Regions from separate parts of the Homo sapiens genome. Here regions 2, 3, 4, 5, 6 and 7 are each linked to region 1. The links are contacts of gene promoters, found by promoter capture Hi-C in human tissues and cell types (Jung and others, 2019). All regions are on one chromosome and are shown on one strand. The core of a region is centred on a gene start or on the middle of the fragment in contact, and the rest is flanking DNA. Distances in the headings are between cores, read along the strand shown.

Evidence for each region. Contacts are between HindIII fragments. The study calls those that stand out against the background at their distance.
Region 2: a fragment that was not itself captured here is called in contact with the fragment with the promoter of GPC6 in region 1 in 1 of the 25 tissues and cell types used here (mesenchymal stem cells).
Region 3: a fragment that was not itself captured here is called in contact with the fragment with the promoter of GPC6 in region 1 in 1 of the 25 tissues and cell types used here (lymphoblastoid cells).
Region 4: a contact is called between a fragment that was not itself captured here and the fragment with the promoter of GPC6 in region 1, in 4 of the 25 tissues and cell types used here (heart left ventricle, heart right ventricle, mesenchymal stem cells and 1 more).
Region 5: a fragment that was not itself captured here is called in contact with the fragment with the promoter of GPC6 in region 1 in 1 of the 25 tissues and cell types used here (dorsolateral prefrontal cortex).
Region 6: a fragment that was not itself captured here is called in contact with the fragment with the promoter of GPC6 in region 1 in 1 of the 25 tissues and cell types used here (mesenchymal stem cells).
Region 7: a fragment that was not itself captured here is called in contact with the fragment with the promoter of GPC6 in region 1 in 1 of the 25 tissues and cell types used here (heart right ventricle).

Annotation. Positions count from the first base shown.
Region 1 is chr13:93,225,177-93,228,761 of GRCh38, forward strand. GPC6 (glypican 6) reads left to right here and starts at 1,631. Exons shown (of 9, transcript NM_005708.5): 1 at 1,631-2,440. The coding sequence starts at 2,281. RefSeq lists an enhancer at 2,224-3,066 and a silencer at 3,120-3,414. The HindIII fragment of the contact is 15,285 bases long and covers 1-3,585 here.
Region 2 is chr13:92,725,106-92,728,690 of GRCh38, forward strand. The region is part of intron 7 of GPC5 (glypican 5); the gene reads left to right. Among named protein-coding and RNA genes, the nearest start is that of GPC5-AS1, 5.3 kb to the left of the region's middle. The HindIII fragment of the contact is 3,123 bases long and covers 432-3,554 here.
Region 3 is chr13:93,694,567-93,698,151 of GRCh38, forward strand. All of the region lies in intron 2 of GPC6 (glypican 6), which reads left to right. Among named protein-coding and RNA genes, the nearest start is that of GPC6-AS2, 160 kb to the right of the region's middle. The HindIII fragment of the contact is 3,857 bases long and covers 1-3,585 here.
Region 4 is chr13:93,662,434-93,666,018 of GRCh38, forward strand. The region is part of intron 2 of GPC6 (glypican 6); the gene reads left to right. Among named protein-coding and RNA genes, the nearest start is that of GPC6-AS2, 190 kb to the right of the region's middle. The HindIII fragment of the contact is 6,919 bases long and covers 1-3,585 here.
Region 5 is chr13:92,798,066-92,801,650 of GRCh38, forward strand. All of the region lies in intron 7 of GPC5 (glypican 5), which reads left to right. Among named protein-coding and RNA genes, the nearest start is that of GPC5-AS1, 78 kb to the left of the region's middle. The HindIII fragment of the contact is 4,740 bases long and covers 1-3,585 here.
Region 6 is chr13:92,814,917-92,818,501 of GRCh38, forward strand. The region is part of intron 7 of GPC5 (glypican 5); the gene reads left to right. Among named protein-coding and RNA genes, the nearest start is that of GPC5-AS1, 95 kb to the left of the region's middle. The HindIII fragment of the contact is 5,870 bases long and covers 1-3,585 here.
Region 7 is chr13:92,831,540-92,835,124 of GRCh38, forward strand. All of the region lies in intron 7 of GPC5 (glypican 5), which reads left to right. Among named protein-coding and RNA genes, the nearest start is that of GPC5-AS1, 110 kb to the left of the region's middle. The HindIII fragment of the contact is 4,606 bases long and covers 1-3,585 here.

The DNA of each region.
Region 1 (3,585 bases), core at 381-2,880:
GTTTTTACCCTCTTCCTCTGGAGTGCATAATGCTTTACTATGATACAAAGAGAAGTTTGAAGGAAGTCACGTTGTCAAATATGACAGAAGTAATAACTTGACTGCAATTCCTGAGCCTATCAACCTCACCGTTTGTCCACAAACATAACCAGAATATATTTTATCTTGATTTCCGACTTGAGGGAAAATAAGTTCAGTGATTTAAGATCTGCCAGTTAGCATAAATATTGTGAAAGCAAAAAACTGTGCTAAAATTTTAAGAGAAAAAAAGTTAAGTGTGTTGCGTTTTCAGAAAGATTTAGCTATGGAGTTTTTTTTTTTGTTTTGTTTTGTTTTTTTTTTTTTTGGTTTTGTTTTGTCTTGACCTATGAGTTTGAAGAAGACAAAGTGGCTCTGTAAATAAGTCGACTTCATTTTTAAAGCGTTTGGAAAGGTTAAATGAGGTTGAATCTTGAGAGTCTTTTTGGTGGTTAGGAGAGGGGGAATTTATTAAAGAGAGGAAGACAATGTACCTAATATGTTGTGATGATAATGACAAACTCAAAGATTTAAACTTCATGAGTCATTCTGGTCATTCATATCATCATCAGGAAAACATCTTCATGTGTAGCTTCATAGGTGAGCTCCACAAAACTGTGCATTACCTTGTAGTAGTTTGTGAATAATGTGCTGACCTATGACACATAGCCACGTAAGTGAATAAACACTATTATTATTATTATTTTGTCTTGGTTTTCATTAAACTATCTTAGTAGTTTCAGGAGCTCTGGGTTTCAACACACACTTCTGCCAGCTGACTTTAGTGCGTCCATTAGCATAACAAAGTCAATTAGGCAAACCTGAATTTTCACTTTTATCCCGTTCACAGAACATCAGTGTAAATGGAGACAGGAAGAAGAAATTGGATTGATTCTCCACTTGAGAATTATGTTAACTTGGAAGAAAATGTTAAGTCTACTATGTGAGGGCATCTAGTGAGAGGGAAGGAATCACCTCCCTTCCCCCATTATGTCCCTTTATGCACCTCTGACCCTTGTGCTCTCCTTTTCTTGTTGCTTCTGTGGTCTGGTTGTTAGCTTTCCCGATCCTCCACACATTAGAAACCTAAGCATAATGATTTCTGATCGAAGGCTATGAGATATTTGAAATAAAAAAAGGGGAAATTGTTGAGTCTAGAACCAAACCTTTAAAAATTAAGAACTACCAGTCTGTAATGTGTGCCTTTAGAAAAAAACAAAGTCAAACAGAAATTAGGCAACTAGTTAGAGCCGTGATTGTGCTCTGCCACCCATGAACTCCCGTCTATGACTATTTCCACTCTGGCTTTGTGTTTCAGTAGGTCAGGGACACATATTAAGAGCAACAATTGGAACTGCGTTATCCTTTACCTCCATAAAAATACAGCTTAATAACATGTTAATGACTTAAAATTACCTTGTCTTTCTAGATTGTTTATTGATGTCATTTCAGATCGGTATAAAGGATGTGAAGTGAATAAGAAAATAGGTACGTTTCTTTTTCTTTTTTTCCCCTTTCTACCGACTAGGAAGAGATCCAGTCCAGGTTTTGCCTTTGACTCGGCCTGTGAATTTCGGCTGTGCAATGTGTAGCACGTTTCTTTCTCCCCCCTCCTTTCTCCTTCCCTCTTGCCTCCAGTGACTGTCTCCAGGATTTCTCTCTTCCTATTTCAGGAGGACTCTCACAGGCTCCCACAGCCTGTGTTAAGCTGAGGTTTCCCCTAGATCTCGTATATCCCCAACACATACCTCCACGCACACACATCCCCAAGAACCTCGAGCTCACACCAACAGACACACGCGCGCATACACACTCGCTCTCGCTTGTCCATCTCCCTCCCGGGGGAGCCGGCGCGCGCTCCCACCTTTGCCGCACACTCCGGCGAGCCGAGCCCGCAGCGCTCCAGGATTCTGCGGCTCGGAACTCGGATTGCAGCTCTGAACCCCCATGGTGGTTTTTTAAACACTTCTTTTCCTTCTCTTCCTCGTTTTGATTGCACCGTTTCCATCTGGGGGCTAGAGGAGCAAGGCAGCAGCCTTCCCAGCCAGCCCTTGTTGGCTTGCCATCGTCCATCTGGCTTATAAAAGTTTGCTGAGCGCAGTCCAGAGGGCTGCGCTGCTCGTCCCCTCGGCTGGCAGAAGGGGGTGACGCTGGGCAGCGGCGAGGAGCGCGCCGCTGCCTCTGGCGGGCTTTCGGCTTGAGGGGCAAGGTGAAGAGCGCACCGGCCGTGGGGTTTACCGAGCTGGATTTGTATGTTGCACCATGCCTTCTTGGATCGGGGCTGTGATTCTTCCCCTCTTGGGGCTGCTGCTCTCCCTCCCCGCCGGGGCGGATGTGAAGGCTCGGAGCTGCGGAGAGGTCCGCCAGGCGTACGGTGCCAAGGGATTCAGCCTGGCGGACATCCCCTACCAGGAGATCGCAGGTAAGCGCGGGCGCGCTGCAGGGGCAGGCTGCAGCCCTCGGCTGCCGCACGTCCCACTGGCCGCCCGGCGTCCCCTTCCTTCCCCCTGTTGCTGAGTTGGTGCTCACTTTCTGCCACCGCTATGGGACTCCGCGTCTCCGTGTTGGGCGGCGGATGCTCCTGCGGCTTCTTCGGCGGGGGAAGGTGTGCGTCTCCGCCGCCTCATTGTGTGCACACGCGGGAGCACCCTGGCTCCCGCCTCCCGCTGCTCTCGCGCCCTTCTACCCCTTAGTTGATGGCTCAGGCCCGGCTGGCCAGGGAGCCCGGGTCACTCCGGGGCGGCTGCAAGGCGCAGACGGAGAGCCGAGCCGGGCGCTCACTCCGCGTTCTGGTTCGGGCAAACTTGGAAGAACTGCGACCGCAGTTTGCCCAGCGCCACAGTCTGAGTGGCGCCTTCTCCACTCCCGCCCTTGCGCCGGCAGGGGCGGTGGAGAGACGCGGAGGGCTCCCCCAGCCCCTCTCTCCCCTATCCGTCCTTCGGGCGACAGAGCGCCCGGCGCTCGGGCCGGGGGCGGGCAAGGCTGGGAGGGACCCTCGCCGGGGACCTGGCCTCTGGACGCCGGCGTTTCAAGGCTGGTTTGGGGACTTCACGGGCTGCCTGTTTCAGATGTGGGGCGGGCTTTCCCGTTAGGGTTCCTCAGTGCTTCCCCAGTTGCTGTTGGCCACTCAGGGCCCGGGGACACCCTGCCACCCGGTCTGGAGCCGGCCTCGTCTGCCAGCGAACAGCCAACTTTAGCGGGTGGCTCAGCTGGGGATTCGGGTCCGGGTTCGGGGGCCCCGTGTCCCCCGCATGCCCGGCCACTGGCATTGCTCCACCAAGAGCTTGAGAGCGCCCACCCTTTCTCTCGGCGCCAGTGTGTGTAGCACTTGGTCTCCGACAACTTGCGCGGCAGTCTGGGTGCTTGTTTTCCGGCTCTTAGCTCCAACCGAATCCGAGCTTCTCTGGGGCTCTGTGAATGAAACGTGTCGGGGAGAGATAATCCTTTGGCTGCTAAAGAACAGAACTGAGAGAGGCCGAGGGAGGCCAGGAGATGCTGCGAGGGCGCGGGCTGCTCAAACCGGGCAGCTGAAGTCCTTAGTGACCTCAGATCGTCAAGTCAAAACGC
Region 2 (3,585 bases), core at 743-3,242, 500 kb before region 1:
TCATCTTCCTAAATTTGGTATTTAGATACTGAATTTTAGAAGATATATCTTCTTTGGCTCTGAGTCCTTTTTATTTTTCATATCCCAAGCATTTATGGCAGCCACATTCGTGCCTATTTCCTGGAATTGTGATTGTCTCATAAATTTGCTACTATGCTGTCTAATGACATAAACTGTCTAAATATGAGTAATTTGTTTAAGAGTACCCTCCGTTATATATCTGTTCTCCTAATCCTTTTCTACATTTAAATGATAGGCGGCTGAGAAACACACAATTCACTTTCAGAATTGAGTGGGCTAAACAACATTTATGACTTGAAAAAAACACTTTCTTCTTTAAAACAAAGAAGGCATATTAGTTTGGCAATTGCAACTCTAGAATCAGTTTATGAGTATGTAAGGAACTACTCTAAGAATTGACTAGAATATACCTAGCCAAACTTTATCTTTAGAAATTATCCCTCAGTGAAATTGGAACTATTTTTAACATTTTTTTAACTGTTAATAATCCAAAATGCAACTATATAAACAATGAAAATACAAAAAAATGAAAATAAAAATCACACGTTCAAATTCTCATGTTAAATCTTAACAAAAAATTGGGCATTACTTTGAACTAGTTGGGAATGATCAAAATAGAGCTCTTCACTGGAGTTATTAAACATAGAATTTGAGAAAAATTTAGATCTAAATTGGATGAAATTGTTATTGACCTTTAATCACTTACTCCTAATATAACCTGAAAGTAGAACATGACTTGCTATTGAATTTCTTTTTCAAATACTGGTATATTAATGATGCCCTCTGACTTTTAGCGTAGCACATTGCATGCTAGGTCACAAGTGTTTCCTGAAATGACTGAACTGTATCAGGCTTCATCTTCCAGCACTGATGCACCATCCTGAATATTGCTCTAGGTGAGGTCTTTTATTCTCTGCCAAAAGTCACATTATTTTTGACACAAGCTTCAGCTGCTTCACCAAAGAGCTAAAGAGTAGAGTCAGAGCTCCAGAAAAGAGATGATTTGTAAGGTCCTGGAAAAGGTGATGCTTTTAACTGAATTCTCTCTCCCACTTCAGGCTTGGTATCCCACATGTTTAGTTTAGGCACTCTTCCCATCATGATCTCCTGAAACTATTAACTCAAAACACCCTTGATCTACATAATTAGATCTTGTTTACCATACCTGGAATCAACATATTGAAAAATAATGTTTATATTTGCTCTTAAATCTAGTTGTTTCTTTTAGAACCAAGAATTCTGTACTATTTTTTTGTGTTTGTTTATTGTTTGTTTGTTTGTCTTGAGACAGGATCTAACTCTATCACCCAGGCTAGAGTGCAATGGTGAAAACATAGTTCATTGAAACCTTGAAATCCTGAGTTAAGTGATTCTGCCACCTCAGCTTCCCAAGTAGCTGAGACTACAGGCCCATGCCACCATACCCAGCCTGAACTATTTCTTAATAAAGGAATAAAACTTTTTTTCCAAAATTTAACTGTTTATTCCACTTAAATGCACTCACTTTCTTGATAGGTGATCACATCTTGTTCCTGATCATATGTTACTTGCCTTTGATCCCTGGTTAAAGTCAGGTGTTTCAATGATAAGAGCAAAAGTTGGATTCTGAAACAAAGTTAAGCTATAAACTACATATAAGTGGTCCATAATATTTATGAAACCCAGTCAATATGGCCAAGGAAAATTGAGGTTACTTCTGTGAAGATAATAAGTACTCGTTCTGAATGTACTAACAAATCAAAGCTCCAAATATTTTTGTTTATGGAGAAAAGAGGGATAAAAGAAAACTTATTGTGAGAGCTATAATTCCAAAAAATAAAGGTGTCACCTGAAATGCTATTGATAGTAGGAACATAAAATTTAAATATACTTCCTAATAATGTTGCCTCTTAATTTTAGTAGAAATGCATTCAGACTCTTTTTATCATAGCAGTAAACAAAAGGCATGGGATATCTGTGTTTAAACCACCTTAGCTTAACACAATTTGTAATAGCCATCATTAGGAGTTTATGCAGAGCCCTGTTTTATGTCAACCACGCTAAGATAATGTAGCTCGGGGTGCTATATCCATGGTCTTTGAAATGTGTGCGTAAACAGACACTTTTTCCATGTATCTGTTTTGTCATTTATTTTGCTGTGTAAACACTATTATGAAATTTAGTCTAATCTTTTTGGGTTAATTCAAACATTTTCACTATGTTCAGATAAATGTAACCAAAGCCAGATGTTGGTTTCTGTACTAAGAGGGCTCACTTAATGTAAACATGATTCTACTTCCTCCATTTCTTTTTGTCAGTCCAGATGTTGAAGTTGTTCAAAATGCTTTTCCTTTGCCTCATCACAGACCTCCCAGAAATCAAGCCTGCTTTCCAACTGATTTCTGCATGGGTGTCCACCTTTAACTTCCTATTATGCCTCACAAGCTCGATAATAATATTACAAGTGGCCCCATTCAATCTTGACAGAAACTCCAAGAAATTCATCTCTTCATTATCAGCTGTCTTCTTTATGCATTCTCAATTCAGTAGACACTTTTTCAAGCTTCATTTGCTGGGCAGAGTTGTGCTCCCTACCCTCTCACTTCTGAAAAGAAACATACCCTTAATGGATTCTGCTGACTCTCCATTCATTTTCTAGACTTCATTGGAGATGGCTTTCTTTAGACTGCAGCCTCCTTTGGACTACCTTCACCATCCTTTATTCTGTCATTACTCGATCATATTGGTCTTTCAATCTGCATTTCTACCTTCTCTAACAGTCAGTTTACTATCTCCTACTTTTTGTCTCAGTCAGTATTCACACCTCACATAAAAATGTGTATGCTTTTGTTCATGCTTTATAAAAAAATCTCTCCATGTTTTTGTTTGTTTGCCGACTCTTGATTTTTTAATTGGTGTAACTTAACTCTTTGGACTATGGTGTTTTAAAAATGTAGAACTACAATGTTTCTAAGAAAGTACCATAGAATGACAAAAAAATTTCACCTTTTACAACTACTTGTCTCATACATAGCTTGTCTCTCAATGCATTATTTGCCATAGGCATTTATAAACGAACTGATTTCTTTACCATTATGAAGTCAAAGACAGTTTCTCTTCTACATGCCTCTAGGAAAGATTGATGAGCATATCTTTTTTGATGAAATGTTTCAGCCCTAGGATGACCTTAATGTGCTTATATCTTGCTTTGTTGCTAATCTCTTTTATATTTCTATAGTTTTCTTATTAGTTAAGCAGTCTTGAATGTATAGGGATAGACAAAGAAATTGAATGTTAATTTTTTTGTGGATTCCCCATGATTCAGCCAATACATTATTTCCAAGTTTAGTTCAGAAGAATAGATTTAAGCAAAACATAGAGAAATTTAGTGAACTTAAAATTTCAGAACGCATCCAACATGAAAAACAGAGAAAGCCTCAACATTTCTTGTATTAAAATACTTTCCACTTCTAGGAAAACGGGGGTAGGAATTTAAATGTTGACACATAAAATACAGCACTGATTGTTATTATTTAAAAATGCAGTCACTATCTTAATGTTTTCCTGGAACAGACTTAAATAACT
Region 3 (3,585 bases), core at 493-2,992, 470 kb after region 1:
CTTACCCTTGCAAGATTGCCTAATCCAAGACTGACCAATGTGATTAAACCGAGTTACACATCACTGGTGGCCTTGTGCCAGATGCAGGCTTCGGAAGAATAAATTGAGTTGTGTTACTGTCACCGCACAACTTTATTGAAAACAAGGCAGTATCAGCACCTTTAGGTCCTACTCTCAGGCAAACACTGAAGATGACATTGCTGAAGCTTGAGTTGCCTTTCTTTTTTTGACTTAACTAACACTTGATATTCCCCAGGATCAGCCTCAACAACATTCACCTATGTTGTCATTCTCACTGGGCCTTGACCAAAATCTCAGTTGTTCTCAATTAGCCTGTTTTGAAATAATAAAAAAAAAATCACACCTCTGTTCTGGAAAATGATGAAAAAGTCATCCTTGTACTTCTAATCATAAACTTCCTCTTTAGAATGGAATCTCATAACATTAAATAAATTTTCTAACTGCTCAGAAACGATGCATATGTGAGTTAAATCTGTGCTAAAAGAATAATCAAGCTTGTTCAATTAGAAAATAGTCATAGAAATGAGTCCATAAATAAATAAAATTTTATGAAATATTTAGCAATGAAAGTTTATGGAATAAACTTTACTTAGAAGTTTACTGAGCCTCCACTTTTTATTATAAAAATACTTCCTGAAATCACCCTAAAATATGTTTGCTAGCAGAATGAGAAATTGATTTACTTACTTTTTAAAATTGTGTTTCTCAGATTGACAGCAGTAGGTATAATGCAAATAACAATATTCCAACATGTTATTTTTTAACATTCAATAAAAAGCACTTCTATTCATTTTTAAACCAACAAAATAGAGAATTGAAATGAACTTGAAAAACTACACATGAATATTAGAAATATTAAATATTATAATTTAAATATTTATTTCAACGTGTACTTTCAAGCATCATATAATCCTTTGATGTATAAGGGAACAGTGATTTGAAAATAACTTTTATAAATACACTTTTGTTTTAGATACTAAGAAGTATCTTTTGAGTAAATTTTCTCTCAAAATACATATTGGCACAATATTTCTTAGATTTTTTAAAAAATATCTTTAAACATTTCCACTCCAAAAATGCAAAATAGTGTAAGATGAAAAATGGATATTTAAAATATGCTTTCATTCATTTTCCTTTGGTAATCAACTCAAGCTTTTTCAAGCTATGTCAAAAATGATGAGCTCAAAGGCATTTTGGAGGTGACTGTGACATTGCTGATATTAATTGGTACTTTATTTTCACTTCTATTATGCTCTGCAGGTTTTGAACCTATTTTCCACCCATTTTTGTTCTTATAGTTAGAAGGTAGGCAGGAATAAACAAAGATGATAATGAATTCTTATCTAATTATGAGTATCATCCAGATTTTATAAGAAGAAAATAATTCCAGAAAATGTCTTCAAAATCAATTTAATGCAGTGTTTGCAAACATAAAAATGCTAACAGCATGTAGAAAGACTTTTGACATTTTTCCTTTTTGAAATGTATTCCCAAATACATGGAAATATGTGTTTTTAGGTTTGAGATAAGTCTCTGCGAACATGCTGTAATGAGATTATAATCCAAGAAAATGTTATATTTCTATGCTTATGATTTCTAATACGGCTTTTCAACTGGCAAATTGTGGTAAATGTGCTTGATAAGACAGAAAGCATCATTTCCAACTGATGTAAATTTTCTCCTCTCAACTTCACAAACTTTGAATATTTAGAGTTTTGGTATTGCTTTTAACGAAAGTTAAAACTAAAATGTCATGAAAGCCATGGACAGGATGAAATAATCCACATACTAAATAAAGATAAGCAATGAAATTTAGCAATCCTTTTCTCAATCTTAGTCTAACTACTATTTGGACTATTTTAATACACCTTTTCTTGTTTTATATAACTTCATCATTAGCTATGAAGAATAAACAATGAACTCATTTATACTTTCTTCCCTCCCCCTTTTTTTCCTTTTTTTTTTAAAAAACAAAAACAAAAAACAAACAACAGCAACAAAACTTTTATACTGGTTACCTCCATAAATTTTTTTTTTTTTTTTTTAGGCAGAGTCTCCCTCTTTTGCTCTTTTGCCCAGACTGGAGTGCAGTGGCAGGATCTCAGCTTGCTGCAACCTCCGCCCCACCGGGTTCAAATGATTCTCCTGCCTCAGCCTCCCTAGAAGCTGGAATTACAGGCACCCACCACTACGCCCAGCTACTTTTTGTATTTTTAGGAGAGGCGGGGTTTTCACCATGTTGGCCAGGCTGGTCTCTAACTCCTGACCTCAGGTGATCTGCCCACCTCGGCCTCCCAAAGTGCTAGGATTACAGGTGTGAGCCACTGCACCTGGCCACCTCCGTAACTTTAAATGATATTTTAAAGCTGTATTTCTTGAGTCATCAACTTCTGAACAGTGTCTCTTGCCTTCCTGCTGTATAGCCCAAGGAATCCCTTTCTCCATACATCTTCTTCCTCTCCCAGTCCCCAATTTGTATAGGATTGCTTGATGAAATCATCCCCGCATCATGTTCAGGAGATCAAGCTCCTTAGCATGACCTGCAAGGCCCTACTGATAATACCTGGCCCCAGCCTTTCCTTTGGATATCAGCTCTCACTTCCCTTCACCCATTGCCTTTTCTCTGGACTCAGGCTTCTTGCTGGGACTCAAACATGAGAGACCATTACCTGATGCACTGGTCATTGGATGCATTGCTAGAGTGCCTTTTTATGGCTGTTTCTCTGGTATTTAGGATTCTGATGAAAGTTTCCTCTCTCAGAGCACTTGCTTTACATCCCTTCATAAAATAGCCATGCACCCTCACTCCTCTTTGTTACTACTCTGCTTTATTTTTTGCCATAACATTTACTACTATCCAACTTAATTCTATATCTGTTTTACTAATTTGATTACTTTTCTCCCACTAATGTGAACTTTCACATGGCCAGCCATTCTGTCGGTTTTTGCTGTTGAATCCACAGTTATTAGAGCAATACCTGCCACAAATATATGTTAGACAACGAATTAGCATAGTTTACAAAACTTAAATGCTGTTCTGTACTGTCAATTAACCGTCCATTACTTTGTCCATACGTTAGTTCCAAAATTTTAGAACTAACAAATAATGTTATGACTATATAAATATCATAAATTGCAGAGTCCTTGAGTGTGATTAGATCATACGTTGATTAGATCATACATAACACTCCAGAACTAAGTCTGTGCCATTCAAAAGAGAATGTTCTAAGCATCAAGATCAACTATCCCTTTTCTTATAATCCATCAACTGTTCAAAACAATAACATGCTTTCATCTTTATATTTATTTTATGATTATCATGTGCTGCTTTTATTTCCCATGGAACTTCCAACTGCATTTCATTTATCTTGACAAATGAAGTGAGTGTGGCCTTCAACCATATCTCTAAAATAATCTGATTCCTAATTGTATTACTTGTCAAATATCCTAAAGTGGAGAAATTCTTTAAGGAGTACGCCAAAGTTGTCATCATTGAGTCCTTTCTATTCATCCAAACTTAACTTCTCTTCTTCTTGGCTCTCACAGTTTCTACTTCGTTGGATT
Region 4 (3,585 bases), core at 314-2,813, 440 kb after region 1:
AGCCTGGCCAACATGGTGAAACCCTGTCTCTACTAAAAAATACAAAAAGTAGCTGGGTGTGGTGGCAGGTGCCTTAATCCCAGCTACTTGGGAGGCAGAGGCAGGAGAATCGTTTGAACCCGGGAGGCGGAGGTTGCAGTGAGCCAAGATTGAGCCATTGCACTCAAGCCTGGGGTACAAGAGCGAGACGTCTTTCAAAAAAAGCCAAACGAACAAACAAACAAAAAAAAAACTTCTACATTTCAAGTTAAACTTTAAATTGAAATGCTAGTTTGGGTATATTTTCCACCAAGCATGTGTCTCCAAGCAGCAATTCCCTATTTGCTTATGTCTTGTAATATCTTGAACTTGATATTCTTCTAGGAATAATTCCTAATGGGACACCAGGATAATCAATGAAATAGAAAAAAAATTGAAATTTAAAACAACAACAAAAAACAAAACACCTAGGCATGTGCCCTGATTACTCAATAGAGTTAATCAGAATTCTGGTGAAGTCAGGTGAGCATATCATTATTTTTATTGCTAACCAGGTGATTCTAATATACAGCCAGGATTGCGAATCACTGTGATAGAAAAATGACATTTGGTGGGATCTATTCATTCACCTAGGCATTAACAAATGTTTACTTTGAAAATACCCTGTGCCAGTGACTGGTTGCAAAAAAAAAAAAAAAAAAAATCTCAATTTTTAAGGAGTTCAGAGACTGACAGTACAGAACAGAAAGCTAGACATAAAAAGCCTCCTATGACTTATTATAATTTTTTTTCCTGATAAGTTTTATAAAGTAATACAGGTAATTTTCACATGGAACTGTTCAACTCACTGGACCTTATCATATAATTGTTTTGAATTGGAATCACATATAGCCCATAGCATGGCACCTTGGGCAGAAGATGCATTTACAACTATGTGTCAAGTTGATGTTCATATATGAAGTGACTTTTCTCCCATAATAAATTCCTTTTTAAATAAAATCTAGCAGATGCTGAGACAGATTATTAAAGGTCTGTTAAGCTTATGTACTTAATTTTTGTGTTTACAGTCTTATTATATCCCCTTTCTGTCTGAGTAGATATATCTGCCTCTAAGACAGATCCGTCTCTGAATAATAATGGATTTTAAAGTTAATCTAATCATATTATGTTTGAGATTTAAATGCAATAATAGCAGTTGCTTTTGTTAATGTAAAATTGTATTGTACCTTCTTTTGAAGTGATGAAAACAGAAATAGTAACTTCAGGGTCAGGAAACGTAATCTAGACAATCTTCCACAGCTTTCTTGTCTACACAACAAGAAGTTTGTTTAAAATGGGACAAGTCACTTCATCTTTCTATTAAATAGAATCATCCACTAATAGCAAGGACTGTGCTAGATGTATAGGTAAAAATGCATAAAATGAAGTGATTTTACCTGCAAAAGAAGTAGCTGAACCAGTTAGGCTATAAGTTCCTTACCAAAACCAAATTTTATTATTCTAAAATTCTAGAGCTAGAGGAGGCAAGAGCATGGAAGTCCTCAAAGCAGGATTTTGGTCTTTTTCCAGATCTGTGACTTGAGTAACACTCTCAGCATTAGTCGTTGTTCTGTATAATGTTAGAATAATACTGACAGTGTTATTTTATATGGTTCTGAAGATTGCTCAAAATGTTTGTAACACTTTTAGGAAATAAAATTTACTTGGTAAACAATAAAAAATGATAAGGATATAACTATATAATTTATTCTAAATTAAATTTATTCTAAGTACTTTGAAATAATTTAATAAGGTAGGGAGCAATTCTCAAACTCCATATATAGTAATCACCTGCTGTGATTATTCAGCCATGTAAACTGCATTTTTAATTTTCAAGATCATGCTTTTAAAAAGCCCGTTAGCTGCAGATAAACAAAAAAATGCATGGGATTCAGTGAACTTTTTCGTTTTTATTTTTTAACTTAAGAAAAGCACATATACAGGTATTTGTCACTAGGTAGACTATTATTTTTGGAAATCAGAGCATTTCCCTTGTTAAGGGAAACTGATTTGGCAAATGTAGATGGATGGCTTTTTAGAAAAACATACCATTTGATAGAAACAAATAAGTGAAACACCCATGATGTTTCCAGTGTCATTACTATTACACATGTTTCTATCATTATTGCCATCTTCAGGAAGCATACTCTGCACACAAGCCAATTTTGTTTGTTTGTTTGTTTTGAGACAGAGTCTCACTCTGTCGCCCAGGCTGGAGTGCAGTCATGTGATCTCGGCTCACTGCAACCTGCACCTCCCGGGTTCAAGCAATTCTCCTGCCTCAGCCTCCTGAGTAGCTGGGATTACAGGCATGCGCCACCACGCCTGGCACACAAGCCACTTTCTAAACATTTTTCTTTTTACTTGGATTAGAGAATGCCAAGTATTCTGAATTAAAAATTTCTGTTAGAGAACATCTTCTTAAATTGACAGACATTAAAGTAAACATAATAATAATTCACATTTTCAACTGTCATATCAGCAACAATTTAAACAGTTGTTATTCTCAGTGTTGAAAAAATGTGAAGAAACCTCATATACTTCTCTTCAAAGTGAATGTAGCTTCATTATTTTCAGAGGCCCAATCAGCTATCAGGGTAGAGCACCCACACTTGTCTTCACACACTACTGTTTGGCCCAGAAATTCTACTTTAGGAATTTATCCTAGGCATACACGCCCATGAATCTGCAACCTTTAAGTATAAGAATGTTTACTGCATTGTTATTTGTGATAGCAAAAACCTGAAAACACCCAATTACCAATGGCAAAAATAGTAAATAAGTAATGGTATATCCATAATGATATGCAGCCATGCAGCCATGCAAAATAATTGAACTGATTTGAAATGAAGTTCAAGATATATTGATAAATGTAAAAATCAATTTGCAGCACTCTATGTAAAGTACTATCTCATTTGTGTTTTTAAGTGTGTGGAGGTTTTCTACATATATTAATATAGGTCTATAGATAACTATGCAGGGATACGCTTATGTACCTAGACATTTCTGGAAGGATTTGAAAAAGACTGTGTGTGTGTATGTGTGTGTGCATAAACATATGTTTAGTGAAGGACTTTCTGCATTTCTTAGTGTTTATATTGTAAGTTTTATAATAATGAAAAGAGACAGAAAGAGTTAAGATAGAATATAGCATGCTAATAAAGAAATATTGTCTTATAGTAAAGGATAGCATTTAATGAAAGCTGTTGCTAAGAGAAAAAGTTTTGTAAGAGTGGGACAGAAGAGATAATGGGTTAGGAAAGCTCATAGTCTGTCGTTTTTGAGTACTGAAGAAACGATACTATGCTTGTGTGGATGCAGTGATTTAAATCTTGTCATGTATGTAATTCAGAAACAAAAGAGTGAAGTTAACTTCATCCTGTCTTGACTGAGCCACTTTAATGATAAGTACCATAAATGATATCTGCCACACGATGTGGCCGAAGATCAATCATTTATTCCCTCAACTAATATTGAAAACCTACTAAGTCCTCAGTGCTATACCCGTAAGTCAGGCTCTCCTTTAACAATTAGGCAATTGGCTCAATCTTCAATGTAAAGATTGAA
Region 5 (3,585 bases), core at 709-3,208, 430 kb before region 1:
CAATAGCAACAAGTCATGTTGCTTTATGTATACCAGACTGAGCATGCTGAAAATGACGAGACACAGCAATGCTAAGGAGGAAGCTTCTACCCCTTGGGAAACTGAGCATCATGAGGCCGAAGCATACTGGTTGTTTTTTGGGTATTTTTTTGTAGCTCAATCAAATTTCAGTAAGACATATAGTTTATAAATGTTTGTTTATGGATATTTGTTATGCAGCACAAGATGATATACACTCAGCAATTCACAATGGTGTAAAGGGCAGTTACACTTACTGCTGTGTTCATAATCGATACTAAATTGATACAGACAAATATAATGCTTTTTTCTGTTTCCAAGTTTGAACCAGCTATTGAATCATTTATACTTTTTCCTTGCTGGAAAATTAGATATTCTTCATATTGAGGATTTTTAGAATATTTGAGAAAGGAAAATTATTCAGTTTGCCATGTGTGATAACCTACACTGTAATTCAAGCAAATTTACTTCTCAGGATATAAAATTTCAAGGCATTCAGATAGGAATATTATCTCAGCTGTTTGTGGGATTTTCATATCTGTTTCTAATTTAATGTGTGTTTCGTACTAGAGATGAAGTATGATTCTCTTGCTGTTATTTTTAATCTTTACAAACTAAAGCCTCCCTTTCAAATCAGGCTGTTGCAATTTTTCCTTTCATAGCATTAAAAAGTTTCTAACTTATGGTCATACAGCATATTAAGCAAACAAAAATACCAAACACTCAAAATTGTAAGTCACGTGAATTTAATTATGAACACATATTGACTGCTGTACGAAAACTCTAAATGTAGTTTTATGATTTGCAACAATTGTTCTAAGTAACACCAGTATTACAATACGTAATATCTTAGATTCCTCATATTTTTCTTTGTCTCCAAGAAAGAGTGCATGAAATTGATCACAAACTGGTAAACTAGAAAAATCTTCAGAAAATATTTCCACTTTTCTTAGCAATCTGTTTGAATAATTAGCAAGTCTTATGATCAGACTGATTTTTTTTTCATTTAATGAAACAAAAGTCACTCTTAGAGATTGCTACCCCTCTCCTGTGGTAAATGAGGATATTTAGATATTTTTGACAAATACGTAAGTGGGAAGGTGGCTGGCCTTATGGTTAATTTCACATACTCTGAAATGCCTGTTATCCAGAAAACATTCCTTTCATCCACTTAAAAATCTCAGATAAAGCTACTGTGTAACTTCAAACAGACACATATTAATATAAAATATTTATATGTTAAATTAGCAGACTTCTTTATGTATTTATTCACTCTAAATTATTTAATGCCTGCATAATTTAGATATTGTTCTTTACTCATTACCATAATAACACATAATCACTGATTGGATAAATAGGTCTCAATTTTTATAAAAAGATAGTAAGAAATGGTGCATGTGGCATCTGAAAATTTACATGGGAACAAGAGGAAAGCAGCAATGTCTGAAAAATTATTTTAAAAGCACAAGACATTGAAAATAAAGTGTAAGTAAAATCAGTTGAAAAATGGGGAATGATAGGTGTAAATGGGTAAAAAGTTTCAGAGGAGTCTTTTCTGTGGGTTTCCATCTTACAATTGTGATTCTTTAGTCCTTTACCAATGCCTGGGTTTGACTGTTTGTGTTAATACTACCATGTCGTCAACCCTATCAAGGAAACCACCTTTTTCTCTCCCTTCACACACACTGCTTTTTGAATGTCTATCAGTCGCTTTTCTCCTTTCTCTTTAACATTTCACTATAGATAAATGTGCATCCAAATAATTTGTGCTGTCAAGGAAGAGGGAAGAACACAAAAATACAGATGAATCGGCTCTGATTCAAATTTTTCATTTCATTATATCATGTTGCTAGAATTTAAGAATATTCCTGTGAAGATATGTTAGCTAGTTCTCACCTTACTATCAATTCCAGTTTCAGAGAGATAGTAATAGCCCTAGATATTCATATCATGACTAGATAACCACTTTTTATTTTTCCATCCACAGAAGGTAAATATCTCAAAACAATTTACTTTCATCCAAGTATTTGGTTTGCATGTTCAAAGCTCCCAAACTTCTGACACACACAGCCTTCTTGCAGAAGCTATGGCCATGTAAAATAACTATACATGACTGTAAAATAATAGTTTTCAATCACTGGTATTCATTAAAGAATTTACATTAATAAACTGCCTTCTGAGATCCCAAGATGGGCATAACATTACGGTGCATGCTACATGGCCTCTCCCCTTCTCGAGACTATGAAGGTCATTTTACAAGAACCAAACACAAACCCTTCCTTTGGTCATTTTTGCTCAAGTCAAACCCTAACTACACTGCATTTAAGATGTTTATTTGTGAGATGAAGCATGTCCCAGCAATTCATAAAACATGAAAGCTCTGCCCAAACAGTAAGTGTTGCATGTTGTGGTAAAAGCATTCTTAAATCATTCTGAGTGTTACTTTCCACTAACGAACCCTGTGAAAATTGGAATTACCAACATTCCAGGATCTTGCTCCTGCTTTATGAATGAAGATAACAGGTGGTTCAGAAAAGAAATAGATACAGCAAAGAATGCTGCAAAGCTAAGTTGTGAAGGTTCCTATGATTATCTAGAAGGCTCATTTCAATTTATAATAAAGGGAAGAGTCTTAAGCAATGAATGGTTTCTTCATTGATACAGAGTTCATTAAGAGGAGAATAAGGGATTAACTTTTGATATTCTCAGTTCCCAATAATAATACCTTAGGGTGTTGTTTGTTACCTTGACGGAAAGTTAAATTCTGCAACCCTAAAATAATATCGTTACTATCCTTTTAACCCTTTTAAATTCCCTTAAATGATGACCTTCTTGCTTGTATATTGTTGTGTCAACAGATATTACAAACAAGAATATAAGACCATTTCAAAATTTACGAAATTCTCCCTAATTATTCTTGGTTTCTAGATGTTACTAAAAAAAGAAAAAAAAAAGAAAACTAGCTTTTTGGGGGTAACAAATTAGGTATAAAATGTATTTTATGTACATTCTATATAACAAAATATGTGTGTGTATGTGTGTGTGTAGTGTGTGTGTGTATAATATTGTTATGCAACCCATGACTATGTGAACACATGTGTGCTTGTTTATATTTATACAGTCTACCTACATATACCTATAGATATATATACATATCTATATTTATACAGACATTTTGGTCGACCACAGACTGCATATACGACTGGTTCCATGAGATTTTAATGGAGCTGAAAAATTCCTATTGCCTGGTGGCATCTTAGCTGTTGTAACATCTTAGCACAGCACATTACCCATGTGTTTGTGGCGATGCTGGTGTAAACAAGCCCACCCTACTGCCAGTCACATAAAAGTATAGCACATACAATTATCTATAGTACATAATATTTGATAATAATAAATGACTATATTACTGATTTGAGTGCTTAATACACTATACTTTTTATTGTTATTTTAGAGTGTACTCCTTCAATTTTTTTTAAAGTTAATCCTTCAGGAGTTATTCCAGAAGAGGGCATTGTTATTATAAAAGGTGACAGCTTCCTGTATGTTCTTGCCCCTGAAGACCTT
Region 6 (3,585 bases), core at 810-3,309, 410 kb before region 1:
TAAACCTATTTCCCATCTTCTCAAATCGCAAACCACATTTTGAAAAAAATGTTATTTTCTTAAGAATAATAAACAATTTTATATGTTAGGAAGCTTAAATACATTCAACATATATTTATTTAACACCTATGATATACCAGATGTGATTCTAGGTTCTGGGGATGCATCAGTGAACAAAATTAATAATGTTTCCCTCTTTTGGAGCTTAACTCTGATAGGTTAGATTGACAATAAAGAAAGAAAAACATATAATACAATGCCAGGTAGCAGTAACTGCTATGAAAGCAATAGCGCAAGGAGGTAAAGGTGATGAGAATGAGGCTGCTATATTTTAGGGAGAGAGATCAAAGAAAGACTCCATGAAGAGAGGATATTTTAGCAGAGATAACCAATGAAGTTCCCACTTCATTGGAGCAGAGAATACAAAATAAGACATAGAGGAGAGCCTGCCAGGCAGAACAATCCCCAAATACAAAATCCTGAGGCAAGAAAGTTTTTTGTATTAGAGGAAGAGCGAGGGGTCAACGTGGATGAAGCAAGTAATCAGAGGAGAAAATTGTGAGGAAATCAGGGCAGACTAATAGTCATAGCCTGATTACACAGGCTTTGCTGACTCTGTGATTTTTTTTTCTATATATGATCTGACACCAGTGGAATACTATAAGCAGGAAAGTTACAGGAGTTATAGTTGTATGTATCGAAAAATGTTCTGGCAGAAGTGTTGAGAACAGACTATACAAAGACAGTAGAAGCCAATCAATGGTGGTGGCCAGGACTCCTGTGGCTGTACAAGGGGTGGGGGTGTGGGAATAGTGGTATGGTTTGGGGCATATTTGCAAGGCAGAGCCAATACAATGCACGGCAGATTGAATGTGAAATATGAGAAGGTAAAAAATCACTTCAAGGCTTGGAACCGAGTCACTATTGAGTTGAGCTGCCATTTTCTGAAATGAGAACATAGGGGAAAAACAGTTTTGGAGATGGAAATCAAGAATTTGGCTTTGCACCTATCAATTTGAGATAACTATTAAACATCCAGTTGGAGATGTTGAATAAACGGTGGGAAATAAAACCCTAGGGTTCTGGGGAAAGATCAGAGCTATAAATATAATTTGGGAGTCATTTGCCCATGAAGGGTATTTAAAGCCACAGGACCAGATGAGTTCAAGTCATTAATGAAAGTTGATAGAGAAGGCCAAAGACTAGATTCTGAAATGTATCCAAATTGCTCACATTCAAGAGGAATACACTTTCTCAATGTGTCTGTTATACATAATTTTCATTCTGTTTTACTTCATTATGGCATAGCCATAAAAGTAAAGTGACAATTAGAAGGGCTATTGGATAGGTCATGGAACTCAGCCATGTAACTCTGGGTCTGTTGGTAACCAGATCCATAGACTTGAGCTATATGATTTCCCCCCTTGGGTTTCAGTTGCATTGTCTATAAATTACAATAATGAATATTGTTGGCTGTTTGAGCATGGGGAATGAAAGAAAAGAGGAAAACTAGCACTAAGGGGTTTTGAGATTTGTTAGTTGCCTGGTGGGAAAGTTACTCATTTCGGAAAGATTTAGCTACATTGAGCATGGCCTGTGTGATCTGTCATGATCTGAGACTCTTTTGCAACTGTTCCTGAATAGCACTGGCTTCTTCATTCTCACCTTGCTTTCACTTAATTGTACTGTTCTATACGTTAGTCAGTGATGGTTTGGTTTCAAAAACTAGAAACTCTCTGAAAATACCTTGAAAAGAAAACAGTATATATTGGGAGTTCCAGAGTATCTTGCAAAACTCAGGGTACATAGTGCTTCCAGGCTTTCTGAGGGACAGAACCAAGAATGGAAGGCTTTTAGTCTCATCCTGGTTTCCTCTTCTCTAATTACACATAGTCTGCCCTGACTCTGCCAACATGTGCCTTGAATCTCTGAAATATGTAAACTCCATGTCCAGTTTCCACAGATAATTGACCCTGTCTCTATATGTCCCAATTTCAAATTCCTGGGTGAGATATCTGGATTCAATCAATCTACCCTCTATAGTGATGTTCTCTAAATCAGTTGCCCACTCCCGGTCTAGAAACCTATAACCAAAAATGGGTTGGTTCACCTAGTACCTGCTTGAAGGATTCTAATACTAAGGTTAGAAGCTTAAGGTTGGAAGAACAATGCAATCCCTAAAAAGATCCAATATAGAAAATAAAAATAAATTACTGGTTCTAAATTATCATACTTATTTTTAATTATTCAGACCCATTCTCCTCCGCCTACCACTTCCCACACATACACAAACTTTCAAATGCTGTTACAATGAAGCAGAAAATATGAATATGTTGTTCTGCAGCAGGAAAAAGTAGTATAAATCTACAATTCTGCAGCAGGAAAAAGTAGTATAAATCTACAATTCCAATTGCCTAGAATACTAAAGCATCAATATCCTTTCAAATATTTCGGTTTGGGTACATACTTTTTTGATTTTTTAAGTCCTTCACCAAAACTATATGTTACTATGACATTAAGACTTAGTACAGCTTTTTGATTACATAGCCTTCTAAGTTTTAAGGCTGTGTCTGTAAGATGCCTACTCAACTGAATAAAATATCAGCATCAATCAAACTATTTGGTTTACTGTACAGAATTTTGACTATATTTAATCTTTGAAAAATTAATCAGAATTATTATCATAGGTATCCAATTTCATGAACTCTTCTAGTATTCATTGATGCTTCTTTGGAAATTTTATTTTCTAAGCCAACATATTTATTTCTTCTTGGGGCTCTCTTGAAGTCATAAAAGTATACCGTTTCACTGAAGGTCTGAGAAACAGGGCTAAAATTGACTCCAAGAAACAAACAGTTTTAGTATACTTTATATGCCCACTGAGTCTTTCAAACCACATTAGTTAATCATAAGTCACTCAGAAGAACAAGGTTTTAATGAAAAAATATTCTGGGCTTTTTAATTTGTCTCTTGAATATTCTGAATGAAAAAATAAACCTTGTGGCAGCAGGACATTTTGATTAGAAACTAGCATTTCTACAAAACTTTCCACCTGGGTAATGGGTAATGGATGGACATCTTGCCTAAATTGCATTTTTTTTTTTTTTTTTTCTTGAGATGGAGTCTCGCTCCGTCACCTAGGCTGGAGTGCAGTGGCGCGATCGCGGCTCACTGCAGCCTCTGCCTTCTGGGTTCAAGTGATTGTCCTGCCTCAGCCTCCTGAGTAGCTGGGATTACAGGCACCCATCACTGCACCTGGCTAATTTTTGTCTTCAGTAAAGATGGGGTTCACCATATTGGCCAGGCTGGTCTCGAACTCCTGACCTCAGGTGATTCAACTGCTTCGGCCTCCCAAAGTGCTGGCATTACAGGCGTGAGCCACCGCAACTGGCCCACATTTTGAAATTTATTCAAAACCTTTTAGTTACTTATGTCACATGCTTTATAAATAATTCTTTATTAAAAAATAATTCTTTATTAAAACTAAAAGCCTTTAATCTAAGTAAAAAGAGGATAAGAAACAATGCTTTTCTTATAGATATGTCCTTCTGCAGGGAAGGAGTTATCCCTTATTACCGAGGAAAG
Region 7 (3,585 bases), core at 367-2,866, 390 kb before region 1:
ATTAGCAGTCTTTGTATGAAGACATCATAGAATCATAGAGACAAAGACTTTAATAGTCTTGACTCTTTGAGTTGCAAGAAACAAAAAGCATTAGCTCAAGCAAATAAAGAACATATTGATTCCATGTGATAGAAAAGCCCACAAAGATGTCTGACTTCAGGTGTGTCTGGATCCAGGAGCTCCAATAATGTTATCTGAGCTCTCTCTGTATTTCTAAGATACGATTTTCTTTCCCTGTTGATTGCCTTCCCATTTTCAGTGGTTTCTTCCATGTGGCCAAGTAAGGTGGTCATAAATAGCATCAGTAAATTACCCTTACAATTTATGTGCACAAAGTAATGATGATTGTGTTTTTGAGACCTGAGCAGAAAAGTACTCTGATTGGCCTTGTTTGAAACATGCACTCATCCCTAAATCCATTAATGTACAGGTATATGGGCTTACCAATCATATATGTTCTTTACTAAAGCACTCCTAGAATTTATTCATTCTATTTTTTTCAATGAAAAAACTGAGGCCAGGAAATGAATGACTTAAAGAATGTCACAAAGTAAGTTAGTAGCATATTTAGACAATGCTAAAATAATTTTAATGATGGTCTAGATAAAAAAATAGAATCTCAAAAGGATATAGGAGGAGATCATTAGTATTTAACTATATTGACATACACGTTTAAAACGTTAACTTACTTAAACATAAAGCTCAAAGAAACTGTGAGTTTTCAAAGATCAACATGGCATTTGTCTGCCTGAATTTCTTAAGGAATTCTTCTTGAGTTTGGCATTAATTTGGGCATCCATAAAGATGGAAGAACTAAAAACTAGAACACAAATTCTACAAACTCAGTGGAGTAACTTTCCAACCAGATATGTAATGGATTTCCTGGAGATTACTGAAATAAAAATATTTTTCTTTGTATTTCTAATATTTTTTAAAACTTCTTACTAATCTTTTTAAAATAGACTACTGCTATTACAAGGTTTTTAAGAAAGGAGTTACTGTATCTTAATGTACTCATTATCACCTTGGTGAAAATGCTGCTTAGTGCAGTTAAGAAGTCTACACATTTTAGAACCTGCTCATTCCTCTTGGTACCCCTTGACTCCCTTACCTCCTCATTTACTCCAACCCAAATTTCCCATGGCTTGGAGGATGCAAAGTGGCTTCCAAAAATACCCACAATTTTGGCCTGGCATGGTGGCTCACACCTGTAGTCCCCGCACTTTGGGAGACCAAGGTGGGCAGATCACTTGAGGTCAGGAGTTCGAGACCAGCCTGGCCAACATGGTAAAACCCTGTCTCTAATAAAAATACAAAAATTAGCTGGGCATGGTAGCAGGTGCCTATAATCCCAGCTACTTGGAAGGCTGAGGCAGAAGAATCACTTGAACCCAGGAGGCGGAGGTTGCAGTGAGCCGAGACTGCCAAAGCACTTCAGCCTGGGTGACAGAGTGAGACTGCGTCTCAAAACAAACAAAACAAAACAAAAAAATACCCACAATTTAGCACAGTGAGATACATCTAACAATGAAGTAGAGACTACTGGAAATTAAAATAAAAGCTGGGTTTGAGTTAATATATAAAATGTATTCCTTTGAAACCTAGCATCTTTGAGAGAGGTCAGATAGATATTTCAATTTGAGCTTTTCAGAAGCCAACAGAAAGAGGGAGGCTAGATTACTTACTTATATGATTCACAGCATCTATATAAGTAAAAGGAAACCAGCTGTCCCTTGTGACTAATGTAATAGGGTGAACACAACCTCCTAAGAAGTTAAACAATATGCAAGATGATAGCGTAACACCCAAGCAGATTTCAGATAAACAAATTGATATAGATAGAGTCAAAGTGTTGTCATCCAAATACCTAGTTCTCTGACAATCTGTTTAACTGTGGAATAGATTTTAGAAAATCTGCATAAATAGATAATATATATATTCTTCACTCACTTGTTCATTAATGCATTCATTCTTTGAAAAATTGATGTTTTTCTTTATCCTCTGCACTGTGAAATATGGCAATAAAAAGATACAGCTGTCCTTGTTCTATCTTAAACTGATTGTGTCAGAGCTGATACAGATACTATTCACATTTTTATAATGCAATGTTATTTGTATTTTATTGTAATACTTATTATGGAAATACATGGTATTATGGGACATTATTGCAGAAAATGCTAAGCTAGACAAGGAGATCACAGACAGCCTCACAGGTTGGCAAGGGTAAAAGATGAGAGAGGGAAGGTGATGATTGTTCCAAGCACAGGGAATAGCATGTGACTATAAAGCTTTAACATAATTAAAGGAAATTTAGTATATCCGTAAGAGTTAACGTTAGAGAGAGAGGCAGGAACAAGATTATAGAAGGCTTTGTAAAACATAAGAAGAAGTTTGGATTTCATCCAAAGATAAATAGAACTCACTGAAGGATGTTAAGTAGTAGGACAATATAATCTGATTTGAATTTTTGTTGCCCTAGCTCAGAAGTCAGGAAAGCACCAATAATGGTCTGGATTAGGGTAATGGCAGTAGGACTGGACAGGTGTGGATAGATTCAAGAGACAGAAAACAAATTTAGCGAGACTCCGTGATTGATTGGAGAGGAGGAATAGGAAGATTTCACTTCCTGGCAGCTAATAAATGAAAAACACTTTGTCTATTAACACAATACCTAATTCATGAAATAAAGCCTTGTCATTTATTCACAAGATAATTATTTTTATTTTCTCTTTCAATGGTAAGAAAAAACTTTGCATATTTTACTCCAACCTGTTAAAAAATGGTAATTTATAAGATTTTAAAAGCGGAACTGAAGTGTACCACTGTTTTATCCCAATGGGTATTGTTACACAATTCATCCAAAAATTGCTTCTACTAACTCTGACTTCCAAACTCATATTAAGGGGAAAGTTACTCACAAGCATCAGTAACATGTATCTAGATAGAAATTATAAAGTTAGACTATAATCAAGTACTTTCCCACAGAGTCAAAGGATGAGAGTTCAATAAATGCTTCAAAAAATCAATACAATTCCTAATAGATTGCTTCACAGGTTGACAAAGAGTGTGGCAGTGATGAATATGAGAATATCTCTTCCTAACGTCTAATGTCTGTTCTCCCACATGCAATGTTGGCCTGAGAGACCCCAAATTACAAACTACAAAAAAGAAAATGTACATGTATTTTAGAGAAAATGTATAAAGAGATAATTGGTATCTAATGTGAAGCTATCTCTTTGGAAAGTGAAGTGACTATACTGCTGATCCAGCCACTAAGGGCCATAGTGTAAAGTTGGTTTAAAGGGTAAAAGTTGACAAGAATCGAACTTACCATTCAGAACAAAAGACAGGGAATCTTCCTTGGCACATCTTCTATTGTTAGATTTTTAAATCAACTGTATTTATTAGTCATGACTAAAAGATGAGAATAAGAAAAAATCTTGCCCCTGTCAATTTCTTCTCTCTCGAGCTTGGTTTGTAAAGCTGAGAAAATAATCTTAATGTCAACCAAGAGTTGAGCCTCCAAATTTTTACTCACCAAATGAGTATCTCAGGTAATCCATACTACAGAATGTTTTTATTTTC